Regions from separate parts of the Homo sapiens genome. Here region 1 is linked to region 2. The links are contacts of gene promoters, found by promoter capture Hi-C in human tissues and cell types (Jung and others, 2019). All regions are on one chromosome and are shown on one strand. Each heading gives the region's core, a stretch centred on a gene start or on the middle of the fragment in contact. The rest is flanking DNA. Distances are from core to core; before and after follow the strand shown. Region 1 overlaps FAM234A (family with sequence similarity 234 member A). Region 2 holds the start of NPRL3 (NPR3 like, GATOR1 complex subunit).

Evidence for each region. The method cuts DNA at HindIII sites, captures the fragments that hold promoters and counts their contacts. A contact is called where the count stands out against the background at its distance.
Region 1: a fragment that was not itself captured here is called in contact with the fragment with the promoter of NPRL3 in region 2 in 3 of the 25 tissues and cell types used here (bladder, dorsolateral prefrontal cortex and lymphoblastoid cells).

The regions. Positions count from the first base shown.
Region 1 is chr16:241,425-248,368 of GRCh38, forward strand. The region is part of intron 1 of FAM234A (family with sequence similarity 234 member A); the gene reads left to right. Among named protein-coding and RNA genes, the nearest start is that of FAM234A, 10 kb to the left of the region's middle. The HindIII fragment of the contact is 7,678 bases long and covers 1-6,807 here.
Region 2 is chr16:137,266-144,250 of GRCh38, forward strand. NPRL3 (NPR3 like, GATOR1 complex subunit) reads right to left here and starts at 1,408. Exons shown (of 14, transcript NM_001077350.3): 1 at 1,377-1,408; 2 at 885-1,069. The coding sequence starts at 1,002. RefSeq lists a silencer at 838-1,067, an enhancer at 1,288-1,337 and a cis regulatory region at 5,690-6,208. The HindIII fragment of the contact is 17,392 bases long and covers 1-5,515 here.

The DNA.
Region 1 (6,944 bases), core at 1,719-4,218, 110 kb after region 2:
ATTTAAAGATTAGCTGAACAAAAATTAGCTGGTGCATGCCTGTGCTCCCAGCTACTGGGGAGCCTGAGGCGGGAGGATCTCTTGAGCCCGGGGATTCAAGGCTGCAGTGAGCCATGATTGCACCACTTCATTCCAGCCTGGGCAACAGAGCAAGACCCTGTGTCAAAAAAAAAAAAGTTTTCATCAAATTTCTGCAATTAAAAAAATTAGAGGCCGGGCGCGGTGGCTCAGGCCTGTAATCCCAGCACTTTGGGAGGCCGAGGCGGGCGGATCACGAGGTCAGCAGATCGAGACCATCCTGGCTAACACAGTGAAACCCCATCTCTACTAAAAATACAAAAAATTAGCCGGGCTTGGTGGCGGGCACCTGTAGTCCCAGCTACTGGGGAGGCTGAGGCTTGAAACCAGGAGGCGGAGGTTGCAGTGAGCCAAGATTGCACCACTGCACTCCAGCCTGGGCGACAGAGCGAGACAACGTCTCAAAAAAAAAAAAAAAAAAGGCAATTAGAATGAGACTTTTGTTTTTATTTTCTGTTCTCTGTGACTCAGTAAACTTCTTAGAGAAAGAACTCTTGGAGAAAAGGGAGAGACCTGTCACTTCCTTTCTGCATGGACTGTGGTATTCCTGCCCCACCCCTGCCGAAATGTTAATGAGCTGTGCAAACTACTGCTGGATTGTTTTGTTCTTCCCCCTAATCAGAGTTTCCACTCAGGACTGGGTAGCCTGTGGACTCCCTGGAGGACAGATAGGTGTGGCAGCCTCAGTGGCCTAGAGTGGACAGCTGGTTTACCGATAGTCCTTTTTTTTGAGACAGAGTCTTGGTCTATCACCCGGGCTGGAGTGCAGTAGTACGATCTTGGCTCACCACATCCCCTACCTCCCAGGCTGAAGTGATTCTCGTGCTTCAGCCTTCCCAGTAGCTGAGACTATAGGCAGACACCAACATACCCACCTAATTTTGTATTTTTAGTAGAGTCGGGGTTTCACCATGTTGGCCAGCCTGGTCTTGAACTCCTGTCCTCCAGTGATCTGTCCACCTCGGCCTCCCAAAATGCTGGGTTTATAGGCACGAGTCACCGCGGGCTTACTGATAGTTCTGTAGGCCAGGGGAATAATCCGTTTGAATAACCATATATGAGGTATTGTGTTTATCTTTCTTTCTTCAAGTTATTCTTGGTGTCAGCTCCTTTTTTTTTTTTTTTTCTGAGACAGAGTCTCGCTCTGTCGTCCAGGCTGGAGTGCAATGGCGCTATCTCAGCTCACTGCAACCTCTGCCCCCCGGGTTCAAGCGATTCTCCTGCCTCAGCCTCCTGAGTAGCTGGGATTACTGATGCACATCACCACGCCTGGTTAATTTTTTGTATTTTTAGTAGAGATGGAGTTTCACCATGTTGGCCAAATTGGTCTCGAACTCCTGACCTTGCGATCCACCCACCTCAGCCTCCCAAAGTGCTGGGATTACAGGCGTGAGCTACCACGCCCATCCCGTGTCAGGTCTTTTACCTTAATTAATACGTATTGTATTGACAAATTTTCTTTTCTTTCTGAGCCCTCACTTTTTTTTTTTTTTTTGAAACAAGGTCTCACTCTGTTGCCCAAACTGGAATGTAGTGATAATGATCACAGCTCACTGCAGCCTCAACCTCTTGGGCTCAAGCTAACCTCCCACCTCAGCCTCCCAGGTAGCTGGGACTACAAGCACATGCCACTACACCTAATTTTATTTTACTTTTTGTAGAGATGGGGTCTCCCCATGTTGCCCAGACTGGTCTCGAACACCTGGCCTCAAGTCATCCTCCTGCCTCAGCCTCCCAAAGCACTAGGATTATAGGCGTGAACCACCCTGCCCGGCCATGAAGTTAAATTTTTGGTTATTAGCTTGTTGAGTTCTGTTTTCTGTTTTTTTAAATAGCCACATGGCCTGACTCTCTGTGGTCAATGGTATGGATGCTAAAGTAGAGCAAGGACAGTGCCCTGCTCAAGTCTCTCTGACCTGGGTCCATGGGGATTTTCTCTGCCAGTCAGGTTCCTGAAGCTCTGGCTACGGCTCCTGGTATTTTTAATGACCGCAGTAGAGAAAAACATTGGTATCTTCTTGCTGTTGATGAGCAAATCTTTGGACCTGTCTCATGGTGTCTTTATTTGCAAACTGGTTGAATCATGAACTGCCTGGCTTTGGCTGCCTTGCCGTTGTGGCTTTTAATAACTACCCCTATTTCTGGTGGCTCAGTCAAGTTTCCAAAAAGGAAGTCTTACCTGGAGATCCTGTGAAGGAATTCCTGACCAGCTTTTTAATTTTCCAAAGACAGGCCTTATTCGTGTTAAACACACACCCCTTTTCTGTGGCCAGGCCGGTGTGAAAGCATGTGCAGAGGCTGTATAGCAGTAAGAGTTCCCACCCCTTGGGGCATTTTCATTGTCACCACATTGTCTGACTTTGGAGACGACCCCTTTTAAACTCTGGCATTTGCTCAGGTAAGTATTTGGGGAGTATTGTTATAAATGCTGTGCATATCCGTTTTTTCCCCACAGTGGAAAGGAAAATGATTTTTTTTTTTTTTGAGTCGGAGTCTTGCTCTGTCACCCAGGCTGGAGTGCAGTGGTGCCATCTCGGCTCACTGCAACCTCCGCCTCCCAGGTTCACACCATTCTCCTGCCTCAGCCTCCTGAGTAGCTGGGACTACAGGCACCCGCCACCACGCCCGGCTAATTTTTTCTATCTTTAGTAGAGATGGGGTTTCACCGTGTTAGCTAGGATGGTCTCGATCTCCTGACCTTGTGATCCACCCGCCTTGGCCTCCCAAAGTGCTGGGATTACAGGCGTGAGCCACCGCGCCCGGTCGGAAAATGATTTTAATGGATGGTTTTGAGGAAGCTGGTGATTATTTTGTAATGGAGAATTGTAACATGCCAGGGGTTTGGCTCTTCTTTCAGTATTTCTTCAGGCTACCACAAAACTCCACTATTGATATTCTTCCAAAAATAAACAAAACACTAAAAGGACTCCTGCCTTTGGAACAAAATAGCTTCATATTAAGGTAGCTTTGAGGCACAAACCAAGCTGCCTGTGGAGAAGCTGGTTCTTCCTCTAAAACTTACATGAACCTCTGACCCCACTCCCCCTTACTAACGGTTTTCTTTTCTCTTTTGATTTTCTATTTTATACTTTTTATTTTGGACTACTTATAGATTCACAAAATGTTGTAAAAATAGCACAGGGCTGGACCCTGAAGTCTGCTTCCCTGAATGGTAACCTCTTTTTTTTTTTTTTTTTTTTTTTGAGACGGAATTTTGCTTTTGTTGCCCAGGCTGGAGTGGAATGGCACGATCTTGGCCACTGCACCCTCTGCCTCCCAGGTTCAAGTGATTCTCCTGCCTCAGCCTCCCGAGTAGCTGGGATTACAGGCATGCACCACCACGCCCGGCTAATTTTTTTTTGTATTTTTAGTAGAGATGGGGTTTCTCCATGTTGGTCAGGCTGGTCTCAAACTCCCGACCTCAGGTGATCTGCCCGCCTCAGCCTCCCAACGTGCTGGGATTACAGGCATGAGCCATCGCGCTCGACCAATAACTACCATTTCAAATTCCCACGACTATTGTACTGCAGACCTGTTATCGTATATTCTCACCAACACATTTTAAAATGCTTAACTTTTAGGCTGGGCGTGGCCCACACTTTGGGAGGCTGAGGCAGGCAGATCACTTGGGCCCTGGAGTTTGAGACCAGCCTGGGCAACGTGGCGAAACTCTGTCTCTACAAAAAATACAAAAATTTGCCCGGCGCGGTGATGCACACCTGTGGTCCCAGCTACTTTATAGGCTGAGGTGGGAGAATCTCTCGAACCCAGCAGGAGGAGGTTGCAGTGAGCCTAGATCACCACTGCCCTCCAGCCTGGGCCACAGAGTGAGACCCTGTCTCAAGATCAGATAAAATGAAATGCTTAACTTTTGTTAATGTCATTGGTCCTGCTGTGTCTATGAGTGAGACTGAGTGTGTTTCCCCTGGGCACCGGCCACTGGCGTGTGCTCTTCAGTGAACTGCCCAGTTATGAATTCGTTTCCTGTTTCCCCACTGGGGTCCTTGCCTTTCTTTTGTGGGTTTGTGAAAACCCTAAGAATATTTATCCTGGTTTGTTTTGTGGAGCTAACAACAATCTTTTGGCTTCCCTGGGCCACGTTGGAAGAATTGTCTTGGGCCACACATAAAGTACACTAACACTAATGATAGCTGATGAGCTGAAAAAAAAAAATTGCAAAAAAATCTGTGAATGTTTTAAGAAAGTTTCTGAATTTATGTTAGGCCACACTTCAAGCCATCCTGGGCCGAGGGTTGGACAAGCTTGGGTTAGACATTTCATAATATATTTAGTTCATCAGTGTTTTTCTTAATGATTTCCACCTTTGGGGTCATGCGTTCAAGACTTTCCCTAACAATACATAAACATTCTCTTCTATTTTCTTTTAGTTTAATGTTTGTTAAAAATAATGTTTACATTTTTGGCCAGGCGCAGTGGCTCACGCCTGTAATCCCAGCACTTTGAGAGGCTTAGGTGGGCAGATCACGAGGTCAGCAGTTCTAGACCAGCCTGATCATCATGGTGAAACCGTCTCTACTAAAAATACAAAAATTAGCTGGGTGCGGTGGTGGGTGTGGTGGTGGGTGCCTATAGTCCCAGCCACTCAGGAGGCTGAGGCAGGAGAATCGCTTGAACCCAGGAGGCAGAGGTTGCAGTGAGCCAAGATCACGCCATTGTACTCCCGCCTAGGTGACAGAGCAAGATTCTGTCTCAAAAAAATAATAATAATAATAATAATGTTTACATTTTTAATTCATTTGGAGTTTATCTTGATTGGTGGATTTTTTTTTTTTTTTGTGACGAGGTCTCACTCTCACCCAGGCTGGAGCACAGTGGTGCAGTCTCGGCTCACCGCAACCTCTGCCTCCTGGGTTCAAGCAGTTCTCCTGCCTCAGCCTCCTGAGTAGGTGGTGGCTTTTTTTTTTTTTTTTTTTTTTGAGATAGTCTTGCTCTGTCGCCCAGGCTGGAGTGCAGTGGTGCGATCTTGGCTCACTGCAAGCTCTGCCTCCCGGGTTCACGCCATTCTCCTGCCTCAGCCTCCCGAGTAGCTGGGACTAAAGGTGCCCGCCACCACACCCGGCTAATTTTTTGTATTTTTAGTAGAGATGGGGTTTCACCGTGTTAGCCAGGATGGTCTCAATCTCCTGACCTTGTGATCCGCCCGCTTTGGCCTCCTAAAGTGCTGGTATTACAGGCGTGAGCCACCATGCCCAGCCAGCTGGTGTTTTTTTTTTTTCGATCGATTGGTGTTTTGTTTTGTTTTGTTTTGTTTTTGTTTTTTTCTTTTTTTGAGATGGGGGTCTTGCTCTGTTGCCCAGGCTGGAGTGCAGTGGCACGATCTTGGCTCACTGCAACCTCTGCCTCCCAGGCTCAAGTGATTCTCCTGCCTCAGCCTCCTGAGTAGTTGGGATTATAGGCGCATGCCACCATACTCATCTAATTTTTTTATTTTAGCAGAGGTGGGGTTTCACCATGTTGTTCAGGCTGGTCTCGAACTCCTGACTTCGTGATCTGCCTGCCTCGGCCTCCGAAAGTGCTGGGATTACAGGCGCAAACCACCACGCCCGGTCAGTTGGTGGTTTTTTAATTGATTGATTGTTGGTTTTGTTGTTTTATCGATGTTTTGTTCTGTTTTGTTTTGTTTTGAGACAGAGCTTTACTCTGTGTCACCAGGCTGGAGGGCAGTGGCGTGATCACCACTCATTGCAGCCTCCACTTCCTGGCTTCAAGTGACCCTCCCACCTCAGCTCCTGGGTAGCTAAGACCACAGGCGTGTGCCACCACACCGGGCTGATTTTTTTTTTCTTTCTTTTTAGAAACGGTCTCACCGTGTTGCCCAGGCTGGTCTTGAACTGAACTCAAGCTTTCCATGCGCCTCGGCCTGGCAAAGTGCTGGGATTATAGACATGAGACAACACTCCCAGCCTTATTAATGATTTTTTTTTTTTAAGAGAAGTCTTGCTGTTGTCCCTCAGGCTTGAGTGCGATGGCTCAATCTCGGCTGACTGCAACCTCTGCCTCCCAGGTTCAAACAATTCTCCTGCCCTTGACTCCCAAGTGACTGGGATTAAGGTGCCCGCCACCACGCCCGACTAATTTTTGTATTTTTTAGTAGAGATGGGGTTTCACCATGTTGGCCAGGCTGGTCTCGAACTCCTGACCTCAGGTACTCCGCCTGCCTTGGCCTCCCAAAGGGCTGGGATTATAGGCGTGAGCCACCGCGCCTGGCCTTATTAATGATTTTTAAATCAGTTTCTCACAAACTCTTTTGATCTTAGATCAGTCTGTGTTTTTCATAAATGCCTCAACGGCTGGCTCGGTTTTAGAAACCTGTGTTTGTCAGTTAAAATGATGATCCTCCCAAAAATGTTCAGTGCCATTTTCTACCCTGACCTGGGTTCGCCCAAGTGGTGGGAGAGTCCCCATGGAGGCACTGCGGGGCCTGACTGTCTGGGAACCCTCTCAGAGTGGAGCCCAGTGCTGGGTTCAGGTGGGTGCTCATCTGGTTAAGTCAATTGCCTGCATTGTTTTGCGTCCCGTAATGGGGCTTTGCCTTCTGAAGCCTCTGTTTCTGTCTTCCCTCACACGTATGTGATATGTCTTATTTCATTCTGCTCTGCAGGTGAGGACACTGGACCAATTGTAGATGCTCACAAGACACAGATGACCCAAATCCCCAACCGTGTTACTAATGAGCATTTAGAGAGTTTTTTCCCTTTGTCCTTCTAAATCTTGTTACAGAGATGGTCCGTGCATGGGGGAAATGTTTGTCCTTTCGGCCAGGCTCTCCAATTCAAAAGGCAGGAATTGAGAAAATGACAGTACTTTCTCTGTCCCTGCCACAGAATGTCCAGTTTGGTCTGATT
Region 2 (6,985 bases), core at 158-2,657:
AAAAATCAAAAGTAACCTACATGCCGTCCACAGGGGAAGGCAGCAGCCTGCAGCCAAGGGTGAGGTTGATCCCTGCTTGCAAAGGCAGACGGAGCTCCAAGGCCGACTATGGGAAAAGGGCGCCACAGAACAATTCGTGCGATGAAAAACCTCACGCGACGTTCCCTTTTCCTGTGGATAGATCTGCATCTATGCACAGGGCAGACAACTCCCAACACGGCCAGGGGTGATCCCTGTGCTTGCTAGAACTGGGGGTGGCAAAGACAACTTCAGATGTTCACGTAACTTTTTTTTTTTTTTTTGAGACGGAGTCTTGCTCTGTTGCCCAGGCTGGAATCCAGTGGCGCGATCTCGGTTCACTGAAACCTCCGCCTCCCGGGTTCAAGCAATTCTCCTGCCTCAGCCTCCCAAGTAGCTAGGATTATGGGCACGCACCACCACGCTCGGCTAATTTGTTTTTTTTTATTTTTATTTTTTCAGTAGAGACAGAGTTTCAACCATGTTGGCCAGGCTGGTCTCGAACTCCTGACCTCAGGTGATCCACCCGCCTCGGCCTCCCAAAGTGCTGGGATTACCGCCACCGGCCTTGTTCGTGTAATTTTGTATTTTCTCATGATGAATACATCCCAAACTCATTTTATTTTATTTTACTTTATTTTTTAAAGGCTGGAGACTGATGAAATGTCAGCAGTAGTTGCTTTGGTGTGGTGAACAATGCATGATTTTAATTTTTTTTTTCCTTTTTCTACTTTTCAAATACTCTACAACGAGCAGATCTCGAATGCCCAGCAAAAGCTAAGCTCCGCGAGGCGGCCCTGGAATGAGGCGACCCCGGAATGAGGCGGCCCCCGCGAGCGCCAGGCCCCCGCCCAGCGCTCACTTACTTGTCTGGGACGCCGGGTGCTCCTGGCTTCTCTGGAAGGGGTACCTGAACAGCAGCTTATTGCCCCTGCTCCCCGAGCTCACCAGAATCACGCTGATGGGGCTGGTGTTGTCCCGCATCCCGCCGTGGGGCCGGGGCCGGGGGCGGAGGGGGCCAGAGGAGGACGGAGCCGGAGGCGGAGGGGGCCTGAGGAGGACGGAGCCGGAGGCGGAGGGGGCCTGAGGAGGACGAGGCGGGGACGCAGGGGGCCTGAGGAGGGCAGGGGTGGAGGCGGAGGGGGCCTGAGGAGGGCAGGGGTGGAGGCGGAGGGGGCCTGAGGAGGGCAGGGGTGGAGGCGGAGGGGGCCTGAGGAGGGCAGGGGTGGAGGCGGAGGGGGCCTGAGTAGGGCAGGGGTGGAGGCGGAGGGGGCCTGAGGAGGGCAGGGGTGGAGGCGGAGGGGGCCTGAGGAGGACAGGGGTGGTGGTGGACGCGGAGCAGCGCCACAGTTACCAACCCACGTGCCACGCTCCGGGCTCGCGAGACTTCGGCGACACCGTCCGGAGGAGGTGCTAAGGCGGCGGCCGGGAGAACGGCGCAGGCGCAGGCGCAGGCGCAGGCAGCGGAATGCGCAGGCGCGGGGCCTTCTGGAAGCCACCGAGTTCCGCGGTGCTGTCTGGAGCCGTACGGTTCGCGTTTGGGGCACAGGGGCCCCTCTTGCTGGTGCGGATGGGAAAGGCGCGGGGTCGAGTCAGCGTCCCTCTCGATGTTGGTTTCTTCGTTTTACAAATAACACTTGGGCGGGGCGCGGTGGCTCACGCCTGTAATCCCAGCATTTTGGGAGGCCGAGGCGGGCGGATCACGAGGTCAGGAGATCGAGACCATCCTAGCTAACATAGTGAAACCCCATCTCTACTAAAAATTAGAAGAAATTATCCGGGCGTGGTGGCAGGCGCCCGTAATCCTAGAGGAGAATCGCTTGAACCCGGGAGGCGGAGGTTGCATTGAGCCAAGATCACGCCATTGCACTCCACCCTGGGCGACAGAGCGACGAGACCCCGTATCAAAAAAAAAAAAAAGAAAGAAAGAAAGAAAAAAGAAAAAAAAAAGGCCGGGCGCGGTGGCTCACGCCTGTAATCCCAGCACTTTGGGAGGCCGAGGCGGGTGAATCACGAGGTCAGGAGTTCGAGACCATCCTGGCCAACATGGTGAAACCCCGTCTCTACAAAAAAAAAAAAAAAAATTAGCCGGGCGTGGTGGCGGGCGCCTGTAATCCCAGCTACTCGGGAGGCTGAGACAGGAAAATCGCTTGAACCCGGGAGGCGGAGCTTGCGGTGAGCCGAGATTGCGCCACTGCACTACAGCCTAGGCGACAGAGCGAGACTCCGTCTCAAAAAAAAAAAAAAAAAAAAAAAACACTTGGAAGCCGACAGGAGATCTTTGAGACCTTGGGCGAGGCAGTGACACTAAAGGCAGGAGCGACTACAGAAGAATAAATTAAACTTCATCAGATTAAAAACTTTACTGCGGCCGGGCGCGGTGGCTCACGCCTGAAATCCCAGCACTTTGGGAGGCCGAGGTGGGCAGATCATGAGATCAGGAGATCTAGACCATCCTGGCCAACATGGTAAAACCCCGTCTCTCTACTAAAAATACAAAAATTAGCTGGGTTTGGCGGCGCCTGCTTCTAATCCCAGCTACTCGGGAGGCTGAGGCAGGAGAATCGCTTGAAGCCGGGAGGCGGAGGTTGCAGTGAGCCGAGATCGTGCCACTGAACTCTGGCCTGGCGACAGAGCGAGACTCCATCTCAAAACAAAACAAAAACTTCGGTGCTTTAAAGGACACCATCAAGAAAATTAAAAGTCCACCCACAGAACGGGAGAAAATATTTGTAAGTTACATATCTGATAAGGGAATTGTATCTAGAATGGAGGAAACTTACAACTCAACAATAAAAAGACAATTGAAAAATGCACAAAGGATATGAATATTTTTCCAGTGCATTATGCAAATGGCCAATAAGCACCAGAAGATGCTCAGCTCAACTGGTAGAGGCTTACGCCTGTGACCCCAGCGCTGAGAGGCCAGGAACTCCAGACCAGCCTGGGCAAAACAGAAATTAAAAATGCTCAACATTATTAGGCATTAGGGAGATGCAAATCAAAACTACAAATAGATGCCACATCACACCTCCTACGATGGCTGTAATCAAAAAGACAAGCGTCAGCAGGGGTGTGGAGAAACGGGAATCTCTCTCCTGCTGGTGGGAATGTAAGAGGCTACACTCGCTATGGAAAACAGGCTGGCAGTTCCTGAAAGGTTAGAGTTAACACAACACTCGGCAAATCCCCCTTTTAGATATATAGCCAAGAGAAATGAAAGCATATGTCCACACAAAAACATGTGTGTTCTTAGTAATATTATTCATAATAGCCCAAAGTGGAAGCAATCCTAGGGTATATCAATTGATGAATGGGTGAATATGGTATAGTTTGTTTAAGGGAATACTATTCAGCCATAAAAAGGAATGAAGTACGGCACATGAATCCATCTTGAAGACACACTAATATATGATTCCATTTATATAAGATGCCCAGAATAGGCAAATCCATAGAGACAGAATGATTAGTGGCTGCCTAGGGCTTCCAGGGGGTCAGGGGAAATATGGAGCGATTCATGGGTTTTTTGAAGGGGAGTGATGAAAATGTTCTAACGTTGACTGTGGTAATGGTTGGACAGCTCTGAGAACGCGAATACACTAAAAGACATGGAAGTGCCGGGCGCAGTGGCTCATGCCTGTAATCCCAGCGCTTTGGGAGGCCAAGGCAGGCGGATCGCGAGGTCAGGAGATCGAGACCATCCTGGCTAAGACAGTGAAACCCCGTGTCTACTAAAAATACAAAAAATTAGCTGGACATGGTGCGGGCGCCTGTAGTCCCAGATACTCAGGAGGCTGAGGCAGGAGAATGGTGTGAACCCGGGAGGCGGAGCTTGCAGTGAGCCAAGATCGCACCATTGCACTCCAGCCTGGGCGACAGAGCGAGACTCCATCTCAAAAACAAAAAAAAGATATGGAAGTGTACACTTGAAGTGGATAAGCTTTATGGTATGCAAATTGGTATGGTATGGTAAATTATATCTCAATGAAGTTGTTTTTTAAAAAATCACCCCACCTACCCTATCCCAGGCTTCCCCAGGAGGTAACTAAAGGTAATGAGCTTCTTTGGCTGCTTCCAGAACTTTCCCAAGCACATCAAATGCATCAGAACCTAACCACTTGACTGAGGGATGAGCATTTTCACTGTTGCAAGTAACCCTCTTGCACCAACACTGACACTAATGTGTATTTTGCAGAACAAATTTGTGGATTGGCCTCACCAGGGTGAAGGGTACGTGCATTTGAAATGGCTCAACAGTACCAACAGGTGCGTTTTCTTGCACAGGGCTGCATAACATTTTTTTTTTTTTTTTGAGACAGAGTCTCGCTCTATCACCCAGGCTGGAGGGCAGTGGCACAATCTCAGTTCACTGCAAGCTCCACCTACCAGGTTCACATCATTCTCCTGCCTCAGCCTCCCAAGTAGCTGGGACTACAGGTGCCCGCCACCACACCAGGCTAATTTTTTTTTTTTTTTTGAGATGGAGTCTTGCTCTGTCGCCCAGGCTGGAGTGCAGTGGCACGATCTCAGCTCACTGCAAGCTCCACCTCCCAGGTTCACACCATTCTCCTGCCTCAGCCTCCCCAGTAGCTGAGACTACAGGCGCCCGCCACCACGTCCGGCTAATTTTTTTGTATTTTTAGTAGAGACGGGGTTTCACCGCGTTAGCCAGGATGGTCTCGATCTCCTGACCTCTTGATCCACCCGCCTCGGCCTCTCAAAGTGCTGGGATTACAGGCGTGAGCCACCGTGCCCGGCCTGCATAACATTTTTTTTTTTCCTGAAATTCCCAGAAAGGAAAATGGTGTCTTGTTCTATGTTGCATTTCTTTGATTGAGAGGGAGAGCTGCATCACTTAATTATTTGCAGAGAATTGCTTTTCTTGTTTTCTTTACAGGTGGTCTGTTCTTGGATGGTCTGGCTGTGTTCTTTCTGAGGAATACATAACCTCTGCTACACATTTTGCAAGGCTTTATCCCCGTTGTCCATGTTTTGATTTTATGTATAATCAAAAGGTTTGTGAGTTCTCCCGCACTTCCCAGGAGTGCCTCTGGGATGGAAATGAGACTGCAGGAGCAGGGCTTGAGGCTGGAGGGGTGAGATGGGACAGATGGGGGTGGGGGAACCCAGGGCAGTGGCCGGTGGTGGTAATGGAGGCCTCCTCACAGGGACCCTCACAGCGACCATGCGAATGGAGCAGGACTGTGACTCAGGTCTCGCTCTTCTGACCTAATCGTGCTGCTGCCCCAATGGGCAGAACCTTGGGGCTCCAGACTGGACATCTCTGGGCTCAAAGGATCCCACTGTTCCCCCGGTTACCCTCTCAGGGTTGGCCTCCTGCCAGTAACCCTGGCACTCATTGTTCATTCTTCTGACTATCGTCAGTCATAATGAGAGCTCGAACTGGTGAAAGTGCAGGGAGCTCACCATGACCCCAGCCCACAGAGGTCCTGGGTGCGTCCCTGCCCTCGAAGCAGCACTCTGGATCCCAGCGCCACCCTCATGTCCATGTTTGCACCTCATTGGCTGTGACAGAAATGAGACATCATTGTCACACGCTGGCCTGAGGGTCAGTGGGCCTTGCTTTGGACCTCAGTTTCCCCACCAGTAACAGGGTTCAGAGCAGATGGTCCCTGAGTGAGTCCCAGCTCTAAGTTCTCCCAGGGTCTCCTGGACAATGAAGCACCAGGGCCAACCTCCATTTGCTACAGGGGACATCCTCAGGCTCTTCTCTGCTAAGACCCCACACCTCCAAGTCTCCTCATTTTACCTTTAAATAGCTGTTTCATGACCTGCTTTTTTGACGGTAAGTAGATTTTTGGAAACTGAAACCCCTGACCCTTCCTCCCAGCCTGGGCCTGCCCTTGGCAGGATAGGAGGCCTTATCGGTCCTGCCACTTGGTCTGGGCCTCAAAGGGCCACCGCCATCTGCAGGAGGGCCGGGTGGGGTTCACAGACGCTATCTGGGACTTGCCTGGACACCTCCACCTTCTCAGCTGAGTGTTGCTGCCCCACCAGGGAGAACCACTCACACACAGTAGTAATAGAAATAATTTAAAATTCATGCTGCAAGTTCCTGAGCGCCCTCCCAACACTGAGGTGGGGGCTAGTCTAATCCCCATCCTAGAGGTGAAAACAGTGAAACTAGGACTCACAAGGCAAATTAGCCTGTTCAGGGTCACCGAGGGTCCACTCTCATGGGAGAGTTTGCAGATGCCCAATCCGGCATTCTGCTGAGTGTCCAGTGGCTTGTAAGTGGCCAGACACCCTTTGAGCTCAGCCTCAGCTGCTCAGGCACAGAACGTGCCTGGAGCTTGGAATTCAGGCCAGAAACCACCAGTGGACACCAGCATTCCACACTCACTGCACAGGCTGGGGCTCAAACCAAGGCCCAGGGACAGGAAGGGACAAGCCCCAGCCCCAGCCGGACTCCCAGCCCACACAAACCATCAGGGCTTGTTTCCTGCTCCATGGAAGCCTCAGACATGTTTCATAACCTCCTGGAGCCTCCGTTTCCTTATCTTTCCAATGTAATGATGCCCATGTGCAGTGGCTCACGCCTGTAATCCCAAGCACTTTAGGAGGCCGAGGTGGGTGGATCACTGGAGCTCAGGAGTTTGAGGCCAGCCTGGGCAACATGGCAAAACGCCATCTCTACTAAAAACACAAATATTACCCAGGCATAGTGGCACATGCCTATAGTCCCAGCTACTCAGGAGGCTGAGGTGGGAGGATCACCTGAGCTTGGGAAGTTGAGCCTGCAGTGAGCCAAGATTGTCACACTGCACTCTAGCCTGGAGGACAGAGTAAGAAGACCCTGTAACAAAACAAAACATAACAAAACAAACAAACAAAAAACCCAACTAATGACAATAAAATAAACCCTCCCTCACAGGGTGGTTGTGAGGATAAAGCACCCAGAATGAAGAGTGTTGCTGCCATGTGCAGAACTTAGAAAGTGCTCAAC